3 separate regions of the Homo sapiens genome follow, and all the other regions are linked to region 2. Evidence: promoter capture Hi-C in 16 types of primary human blood cells and fetal thymus (Javierre and others, 2016). All regions are on one chromosome and are shown on one strand. Each heading gives the region's core, a stretch centred on a gene start or on the middle of the fragment in contact. The rest is flanking DNA. Distances are from core to core; before and after follow the strand shown. Region 1 has its middle 63 kb from the start of RGS10. Region 2 holds the start of GRK5 (G protein-coupled receptor kinase 5). Region 3 overlaps RGS10 (regulator of G protein signaling 10).

Region 1 (3,180 bases), core at 523-3,022, 270 kb before region 2:
ATCACCTGAGGTCAGGAGTTCGAGGCCATACTGGCCAACATAGTGAAACCCCATCTCTACTAAAAATACAAAAATTAGCCAAGCGTAGTGGTAGGCACCTGTAATCTCAGCTACTCGGGAGGCTGAGGCAGGAGAATCGCTTGAACCTGGGAGGTGGAGGTTGCAGTGAGCCAATGTCACGCCACTGCACTCCAGCCCTGGGCAATGAGAGCAAAACTCCGTCTCAAAAAAAAAAAAAAAAAGAAAGAAAATAGGAACTCAAATCTTCATTTTCACCCGGAGGGAAGGTAGGAAACAAGCTTGAAAGGAAGATCCAGGAGAGAAAAAAATACTCAAAAAGGCACGATTTGTTTTGACACTTGCATGGGTTTTAAGTTTGAACCCAGGAGAGCTTTGAGGACAACATTAAATGAAACAATGGCAGTGGGGTAATAAGTATTAGTCTGCGAGCCTTCCTCTGTTACCAGCTGCCTTTGAAAACCCCGTCATTGCCAGCTGGCTTACATCATCTCCGCCCATGGAAAAAATGCCAGGCAAAGCTACATGATACAGGAAGGGGCAGAAGAGGGAAGGGAGAAGTGAAGGGGGTGCCAGGGTGGCTGCCAGGGTGAGAGACATGGATAGGAGAGAAATGAGGATTTTAATAGGCTCCCAAACCAGGTACAATGTCTCACACCTGTAATCCCAGCACTTTGGGAGTCTGAGGTGAGAGGATTGCTTGAGCCCAAGAGTTTGAGACCAGCCTGGGCAACAGTGTGAGACCCCCATCTCTACAAAAAATAAAAAATTAGCTGGGCATGAAGGCACATGCCTCTAGTCCCAGTTACTTGGGAGGCTAAGTAGTGGGAGGATTGTCTGAGCCTGGGAGTTTGAGGCTGCAGTGAGCCATGATTACACCACTGCACTCCAGCCTGGATGACAAAGTGAGACCCTGTCTTTTAAAAATAAAAATAAAGGCCAAGCGCAGTGGCTTACACCTATAATCCCAACACTTTGGGAGGCCGAGGTGGGTGGATCACTTGAGGTCAGGAGTTCGAAACCAGCCTGGCCAACATGGTGAAACCCTGTCTCTACTAAAAATACAAAAAATTAGCTGGGTGTGGTGGCACATGCCTGTAATCCCAGCTACTCAGGAGGCTGAGGCAAGAGAATTGCTTGAACCCAGGAGGCAGAGGTTGCAGTGAGCTGAGATTGCACCACTGCACTCCAGCCTGGGCAACAGAGTGACTCCTTCTAAAATAAAATAAAATAAAATAAAATAAAATAAAATAAAATAAAATAAAATAAAAATGCATTAAAAATAAAAAAATTAATAAATTATTAGAACTTGGTGTTGGGCTCTCCTTCAGAGTGCTGGGGAAACAGAAGAAAAACACACTGGACTGTGCTTCTCCAGCTGCACAATGGCTCGAGACTGGACCATGTGGGTGCTGGAGAATGTAAGAGTTACTTCATTGATCCTTGGGCTTCATGAGGAGAGAGGCCTGGGGAATTGCCACTGGGGAGGAGTTAATGCTCGCTGCTGTAGGAGGTGGGGTTAAGAGGCTTCTTCTTCCCGTGATTTACCTTAGGAATGGCACTGTCCTTGTGGCTGCAATTCCTGAGGCTCTTCCTTAATGACGACCCCCACTGTGTAGATCACAAAGACTTTCCCTTCCAAGTGGCCTCCCGCCAGCCTCACAGCAAGTCTAGAAATACACACACCAGGATCAACATGCCCATTAAGCAGATGGAAAAAGTACGACTCAGAGGCATCATGTGACAGCTACATCAGGAACACGGTGGCATCTGAGCTCACTTTATCTGACGATGAATCGGGCACCACTGCTTGCCCCATGGATGCCAGGCTCTGTCCATCTGAACTTGGATCAGATTGAACTCGGAGTTGGTTTGGCTTCACTGTTCCCAGAGCAGCTCTCAAGTAACTTTGGCACTCGGGCTGAGTTGTCACTCTGGTTTCTTTCCGTGACTTTCTTTGCTTGTTGTCGGCACTTTTAAAAGACCTATTGAATTGTTTGTGAAAATGAGCGACAGTACATTTGCCAAAGCATCATGTGGGTGGCGGCATTCTGCTATCTATTCTGCACACCAAAGCAATGATGCTGCTAATTACATCTGTCCCGTCTGGCTGTACCCGTCTGCCTCTCTGCCTGGCTCAGCACTGTGACTGTTTATGGTGTTCCCAGCTTAGACGTGAGAGGGAGGAGGGCCAGGGAGTCAAGGGCTGTATCCTCTCCACGGTGTTCACACAGAGCCAGGAAAGGCTGCTGTGGCTGAAGTTCTGATTTCTCGTTTTTTTCAGTTGTTGATGGGAGTTGGGGTAGAAAGGGAGGAAGATGTTGCTCCTTGGAAGCAAATGGCATGGGGAAGACACCCTGAATTACAACTGAGAAATGAAACCTCTACAGTTTAACTTGCAGCAAGTTCAAAGGATGTGTTAGGAAAAATTGCAGGTGCTGGTTCTGTGGTATTTGGGGTTTAGATGAAAAAAATAAGTAAACAAACTAACTTCATAGCTCATCTGAAAGAGGGCCTGGCTCAGAGATCATCACTTCCCACAAGAACCCCCTTCTATGGGTCCAAAGGAGGCAAGGATGATGGAAGGAGACAGAGGGAGGGAGAGGGGAAAATCACATCTATTTTTTGGAAGAACGTCAAAGGGAACTCAATAAAGACCCATCCCGTTCACCCAGCTTTCTCTATAGAAACAGAGCTGAGGACTGGATCTGCTATTACATCAGAGATGGGGCAGGAGGAAATAATTTTCTGATGTTCCAGTTTTGCTCAAGTTCAGGCTGTAGAAACCACAGTTTCTTAAGAGGTGGAACCGGTTCACTGGACTTTTTTTTTTTTTTTTCTGTGATGTAGGAAGAAAGGTTCCAAGATGCTACAAACCCTGCAACACTTACTTTAAGTATCCCAGAGGTCTGGAGTGGGAGGAGGCTGGCTGACCTCTTTACTTCTTCAGTTCAGATGCTTAGGGACAGAGGTCATGTGACACCTGTTCCTCTCCCCCCGCCACGCCCCTGCCACACACACAGAGAGACCTGCAGTGAGCAGGGGGCTCTGATGCCCGGTCCTGTGACCTTTCCTCTGCACCTTTGGGTCTATGTAGATTGCAATTTCCTGCTCACCCTCTCTGGGGCATCCCCTGCAGTGCTGACTTCTTTAACCGTTGGC
Region 2 (3,055 bases), core at 513-3,012:
GGGGCTTCTGAAATAAACCTTCTTGCCCACTGGCTGCTTTAGAGTGACAAGTGACGACGAAAGTAAGACACGAATGCCGGGTTGAGTTGCTGAAACGCTGCCCACGGAAGGCTATGCATCACCTACCCCCACAGTGTGTAGGGAGCCACAAGGTGATGGAACGGGCTGAATAAACACGAATCGTTTTATTGCTGGCCAGAAATTCTTCCCTTCATTCATCAAAGTAGGTGAATGAAAATATTAAGCAGGTAAGACATTTTCATGGGCTGCTCACCGAGTATCCTTCTAAACTCAAGCCCTTACTCAGTCTGCCTTCTACCTTGTATCAAATAAAGCGTTCTCCCGTGAAAGGGAAAAACCTCTTCCCCTTTTATGAAAAAGGTCGCACACTAGAGCTCAAATCTTGACCAGAAAAAAAAAAGGAAAATATGCGACATAAATTCCAGGTATTCCTAAATACATATGTTTACATGGACACAACACAATCATTTCAGGAAGCACCCAAGTTTCTGCCTCCCCCCCCTTTTTTCTGTTTTTCATCAAAAGGAAGAGTCAAAATATGCGTTCTTAGGGTTTGACTCAGGATCTTACACACTCCATTTAGACAATATTTCCTGCCAGCTAAATGCAGGAAATCTAATGATTTGCATAGAAAACGTATCTAAAGCACCAGCACACTTACCTTTCTTTTCTTAACTGAGCCAAAATCTAACAATTTCAGTTATCACACTCCCAGAAAAGAAAAACCTGAAATACTGAATTATTTTCTAGGTGGTCTGTACAGCCATCCTTTGATAATTCTATGAAAAGGCTAATTCCTCAACATCTGACTTTGCCTTTAAAAGGCTTCCTTCCACACGACGGGATTTCCCTAAGAAACATCCCAGCGGATGGTTTCCAGCAATAGTCTATATCAACTCAGCCTGCGCAGGCAAAGACTTGGCTTCTGCTCATTCCACCCCCGCCCCTCGAACACACACACCAGTTCACACAGAACCATCCCGGGCCGACTTGAAACGCTATTTTATGTGCATGTTTGCTCGTCGCTCCCCGAATGAATGCTTTTCCAACTGACCTTTCAACAGCTGCCGAGATGGCACGCTCTGCAGGGCGAGCGCTGGAAACTAGGAGATATGTTAGCATCCAAATCCCTGCAACCTTCTCAGCCCAAGTCCAGATTCTCTGAGCCCCAAGGCAGGAACCCTGAAGGGTCTGCAGAGCCGCTCTCCGAAGTGTCCTGCTCGCGACCCACTCGCCGGCAGCGGGCATCCTGCACGGGCGCAGCCCCAGCCCGCACGCCACCCGACACCCGCACCCTGGCCCGCGGCGGACGCGCCGGGCACGTACCGGCCCTGCCTCTTACCTTCCCTGGCTTTCAGCAAGACCGTGTTGGCCACGATGTTTTCCAGCTCCATTGACAGTCGGCGGTCAGCAACGGAGCCGGCCGGCGGGGCTGTCAGCGCCTGGGGTGCTGCCGCTGCTGCTGCCGCTGCTCGGGCTGCCGCCGCTGCTGCCGGAGCCGGGGGAGCCAGCAGCCCGCCTTGCCTACCGCATTATTCCTGCTCTCAGCCCAAGAGTTTCCCCCTCTGCAAAGAGGAGCCGCCGCCGCCGCCGCCGCCGCCGCCGCTTCTTCCTCCCTCTGTGTCCCCCCTCCCCCCTCCCTCAACACGCTCCCCCCCACCCCCCACCCTCCGCGTGTCTCTGTCACTCCATTCTCCTCCCCTCCGGCTCCCTCGGATGCTTTAATGCCTCGGATGCTTCTGCCTCCCCTCAGTCCCTCCCGGGGGTGTGGTACTAGCAGGCTCGGGCGGCCGCACTGCGCAAGCGCCGGCCCAGGCGCGCCTCCTGCCTCGGTGCTCGCGGCGCGGGGCCTGCTGGGAGCTGGAGTCCTCCCGGCCGCGCGGCGCCGGGGCTGAGCTGGGCTGGCGCGCGGCTGTCGGAGCGAGGACCCGCCCCGGGACGGCACCGAAAGCGAAGGCGGGCACCGCCCGGCCGACAGGCGACTCAAAGGCGGCCCAGCCAAGCCGAAGTCCCCAGCACCCCCCCGCAGGCTCCCGCTTGCCCCCTTCCCGCCCCGTCGCCAGCCCGGAAAGCGGAGTGCACGGGCCCCGGTGACGGCGCGTGAAGCGCCGCGGCCCGGCAGGAGCCAGTGCGGGTCCCGAGCCGTGCTCGGAGTGGGAGGGCTGCCAGCTCGGCCGCGCGCCACAGCCCGCTTCCTCCGGTCCGCGCCAGGCCCGCGAGGGTCTGAGTCCCGGGTCAGTGACGCGCGCCCAGGGTCCCCGCACGCGGCGGCGGCCGGCCCGGCCTGGCCCCTGCCCAGCGTCTCCCACGCGGCGCCTCGGGCCGCGGACAAAGATGCACTTTGTTTCCTCGGAGGGCGCGAAGGGCTCTGCGGGTCGGCTGCGACCCGGCGCTGGCTGCCCGCGCTGCTCTCGGTGCGACCCGAGCGCCCCCCGCCGGCCGCGGTGCGCGGCGCGGGGTCTACGCGGACGGCGCCTGGGGCTCAGGGTCCAGCGTGGGAAGCTGCTTATTCTGTGAATAAACTGCCTTCCAGCACACCCGGCCAGCAAATCCACGAGCCTCCCTGCAGCCAAACCCAGCCAGATTAAGTAATAAAAACGCAGACGGAGTCGCCGGAGTCTCCGCCGTGGGGAGCGTTAATGAGTAACAGCCAGGCCAGCGCCAAGCCGGCGTGGGATTAACGTTTTTAAATTCCGGTCTTATTTATTTTGGGGCTCTTAGCTCCTTCCAGTGTTATGCTCAGAACATCAGACTCCAGGTCTGTGCTCAGCCCCGTTTCCTTGCTCCCTCCGCTCCGAAGGCCCCACTCCTGGAAATGGGCTGTCTTCGGTCACCCGGGATCTGCCACGAGTGTCCTACAGCTGGGGGCGGGGCAGGCAGGCCCCAAAGAACAATGAGGCCTTTGCCTCCTCTGCATCCTGCGGGCCGGATATCCGTTCAGAAGCCGACTCTGGGCCTTCTCTGTCCAGAAGGAGGAAACCCTCTGTCCCCAGGGCTGCCAGGAAGTCGCAGGGAGGTGCCGAGAGAAACAGAG
Region 3 (3,251 bases), core at 238-2,737, 310 kb before region 2:
AGTCTGTGTCCTTAAGCCTGGAATGCACCCGGCAATTGCTTTAGAGCAATGAATGCCACCCTCCTGTCACTGCCTGAGAATGCAGATTGGGTGGAGGCATTGGTGACACCTGGGGTGTTTGGCCTGGAGTGTTTGGGCCCCAGTGTGAGTCACTGTTCCCATTCGAAGATGCAGGGATATGACTTGAGTGGTTAAGCGGCAGCTCGCCCGAGGCTGGGCACAGTGGCTCACGCCTGCAATTATAACACTTTGGGAGGTCAAGGTGGGTGGATCACTTGAGCCCAGGAGTTCAAGACCAGTCTGAGCAACATGGTGAGACCTTGTCTCTACAAAAAATACCAAAAAAAAAAAAAAAATTAGCTAGACATGATGGAGTGCGCCTGTAGTTGCCCAGGGAGGTCAAGGCTGCAGTGAGGTATGATTGCGCCACTGCACTCCAGCCTGGATGACAAAGTGACACCCTGTCTCAACAAAAAAAAAAAGAATTCAGAGCCACATTTCTGACTCCAGGCATTCCCTAGTGAGTCCCGCTGCCTAGGAAGTAAAACCAGGGAGTAAGCTCTAAATTACTACAAAAAGTGTGGAGGAACATAGGCACTGGGAGAAGTCGCCTAACTGAATGTCTTTGTTTTTTTTTTTTTTTTTGAGACGGAGTTTCGCTCTTCTCGCCCAGGCTAGAGTGCAGTGGCACGATCTCTGCTCACTGCAATCTCCGCCTCCCGGGTTCAAGTGATTCTTCTGCCTCAGCCTACTGAGTAGCTGGGATTACAGGCATGTGCCACCATGCCCAGCTAATTTTTGTATTTTTAGTAGAGATGGGTTTCACCATGTTGGCGAGGTTGGTCTCAAACTCCTGACCTCAGATGATCCACCCGCCTCGGCCTTTCAAAGTGCTGGGACTACAGACGTGAGCCACCGCGCCCGGCCAGTTCTTTTTAATCCTCTGTTGTGCACGTAACCTAACTGGATTTCACAGTCAAACTTATCACATCTGTTCCAGCAGGGAGACCATGGGAGGATTTTTCTCTCTCCATCAACTAAGGCTGTTGAGGAGTCGATACAAATCCCACTCTCGCCTCTGTTGTTTTAATAGGACCTGTGTTGGTTCATTCCTTGACGTGGATTATCCAGCATTCAACAACTTCACATATCCATGTCATTTACTTGTCCGTCTTCTGTGTGGTTTGTCTTCTGGAATCTGGGAGTGGGGGGCCTCTTCTTCCCCACTGTCTCCGAGGGTCTAGACCCATGCCTGACACATGGTGAACTTCCTTCCTCTTTGTAGGATGAAGGCATTCCATTTCCTGGATCCAAGTCCTCTTCTCTCCTGAGTCATTCCCTCATTTTGGGAACAGCACACGAGAATGACTTCTTCCCTCCAGAATGACTCATGAGAGAAGAGCCCAAAACACAGCTGGCAATAGCTTCCTGAGAAGGGGGGTCTGGCAGGTAGGTATGTAAAGACCTTGTTGAGTGGAAATGTTATTTTTTTCCCTACTCTCCTACTTCACTGATAATCTGACAGAGCATAGAATTCTGGGGTGAAACACACTCAGAAGTTTGAAGACATTATTCCTTAGTCTTCTACTTTTGTTGAGAATCAGTAATTTATATGTAAACTGTTCTGTTTTTTTTTTTTTTTCTTTTTTTCCCTCTCTGGGATAGTATAGGATCTATTTTCTTTTCTATTTTTCCCCTTTCCTCCTTTCCTTCCTTCCTTCCTTCCTTCCTTCCTTTCTTTCCTTCCTTCCTTTCTTTCTTTCCTTCCTTCCTTCCTTTCTTTCTTTTTTTTTTTAATGGGGTTTCGCTCTTGTTGCCCAGGCTGGAGTGCAATGGCATGATCTCGGCTCACTGCAACCTCTGTCTTCCAGGTTCAAGCGATTCTCCTACCTCAGCCTCCCAAGTAGCTGGGATTACAGGCACCCTCCAACACACCCAGCTAATTTTGTATTTTTAGTAGAGATGGGGTTTCGCCATGTTGGTCAGGCTGATCTCAAACTCCTGACCTCAGGTGATCCACCTGCCCTGGCCTCCCTAAGTGTTGGGATTACAGGTGTGAACCACCACGCCCAGCAATTTTCTTTTCTTTTCTTTTTGAGACAGGGTCTCACTCTGTCACCCAGGCTGGAATATAGTGAGGTCACGGCTCTTTGCAGCCTGGACCTCCTGGGTTTAAGCAGTCTCACCATGTTGCTTAGGCTGGTCCCAAAAGAAATCCTCTCGCCTCAGCCTCCCAAAGTGCTGGGATTACAGGTGTGAGCCACTCCACCTGGTCAGGATCTTTTCATCACTAGTATTCTAAAACTGTTCAGTCAGGGGCTTTGGAGGCAGAGGCGGAGTTCATTCATTGTGTGAATTCTTTGTGGAGCCATATAATCTGGAAATTTGTAGTTCTGGGAAATGGTCTTATGTTGTTATTGTTATCATCATTTTAGTAACTTTTTTTCCTTCCATTGTCTCTGGTCTCTTTTCCAATGATGACCTTTCACGCCCTGCATTGAGCCCTTAATTTCATGTTTTATTCTTCCTATTTTTTAATTTTTTTTTTTTTTTTGCTTTTGGAGATTTTGACTACATCTTCAGATCCTCCTATTGAGTTTTTTCTGCTTTTTTATTTTTCCAGACAAGGGCCCTCTAGTCTCTTCCTGGGGGGCCATAAGCCTGATATGTTCCTGAACTAAACATATTTCTAATTAACTGTGTCAGGAGAATTTTGCTGGCGCGGGGGGTCTATATTTGGAATTTCCCTGAATCCCTTTATTCGGTTCGGCGTCTCATTCTTGCCGTCCTCTGTGCCTCTCTGTTCCGGAGCCTCCCTGGGTCTGTTTCTTTAGATAAGAAAACTCAACTCTTCTGTTGAAGGTGGCGGGGGAGCCACCTGACTGCTCAAGTTTGGAGCAGGACCTGGGGTGGAGGACCTGGGGGTCTGATGGCTTCTTTCTGCCGCCCTCATCAATTCCGTCTGGGCTACCTGATGCCCTCGAGCTCCTGCCGTCTCCGGACGCGCTTCTCGTTGGCACCCCCTCCCCACCTGTTCAGGGGCTTGGCTTCATTCTTCTGGGTCTCTGCAGAGTCATCTGCTGTGTCTCCGACTGCTTCTCATTTCCTGAGCCAGTTCTTGAAAATATTCTCATATCATTTATTGGATATTTTCTTTGCCTCATTCTCTTTCTGAAATTGATGTTAGTAAAGTTAGTGTCTTGATCCTTTCATTGTCCTAGGAATTGTCTCCCACATTCCATCTCTGGAAG

What was found. The method cuts DNA at HindIII sites, captures the fragments that hold promoters and counts their contacts. A CHiCAGO score of 5 or more calls a contact.
Region 1: a contact is called between a fragment that was not itself captured here and the fragment with the promoter of GRK5 in region 2, in 14 of 17 cell types (fetal thymus, naive B cells, total B cells and 11 more). The highest score is 12.4, in fetal thymus.
Region 3: a contact is called between a fragment that was not itself captured here and the fragment with the promoter of GRK5 in region 2, in 6 of 17 cell types (total CD8 T cells, naive CD4 T cells, total CD4 T cells and 3 more). The highest score is 8.8, in total CD8 T cells.

What each region holds. Positions count from the first base shown.
Region 1 is chr10:119,478,215-119,481,394 of GRCh38, reverse strand. No RefSeq gene overlaps it. Among named protein-coding and RNA genes, the nearest start is that of RGS10, 63 kb to the left of the region's middle. RefSeq lists an enhancer at 1,323-1,902. The HindIII fragment of the contact is 2,942 bases long and covers 302-3,180 here.
Region 2 is chr10:119,206,278-119,209,332 of GRCh38, reverse strand. It overlaps GRK5 (G protein-coupled receptor kinase 5), which reads right to left and starts at 1,762. Exons shown (of 16, transcript NM_005308.3): 1 at 1,364-1,762. The coding sequence starts at 1,415. It overlaps GRK5-IT1 (GRK5 intronic transcript 1), which reads right to left and starts at 912. Exons shown (of 2, transcript NR_186528.1): 1 at 683-912. RefSeq lists silencers at 1,336-1,385, 1,436-1,505, 1,716-2,545 and enhancers at 2,886-2,995, 3,016-3,055. The HindIII fragment of the contact is 5,116 bases long and covers 1-3,055 here.
Region 3 is chr10:119,520,113-119,523,363 of GRCh38, reverse strand. The region is part of intron 3 of RGS10 (regulator of G protein signaling 10); the gene reads left to right. Among named protein-coding and RNA genes, the nearest start is that of RGS10, 21 kb to the left of the region's middle. The HindIII fragment of the contact is 8,074 bases long and covers 1-3,251 here.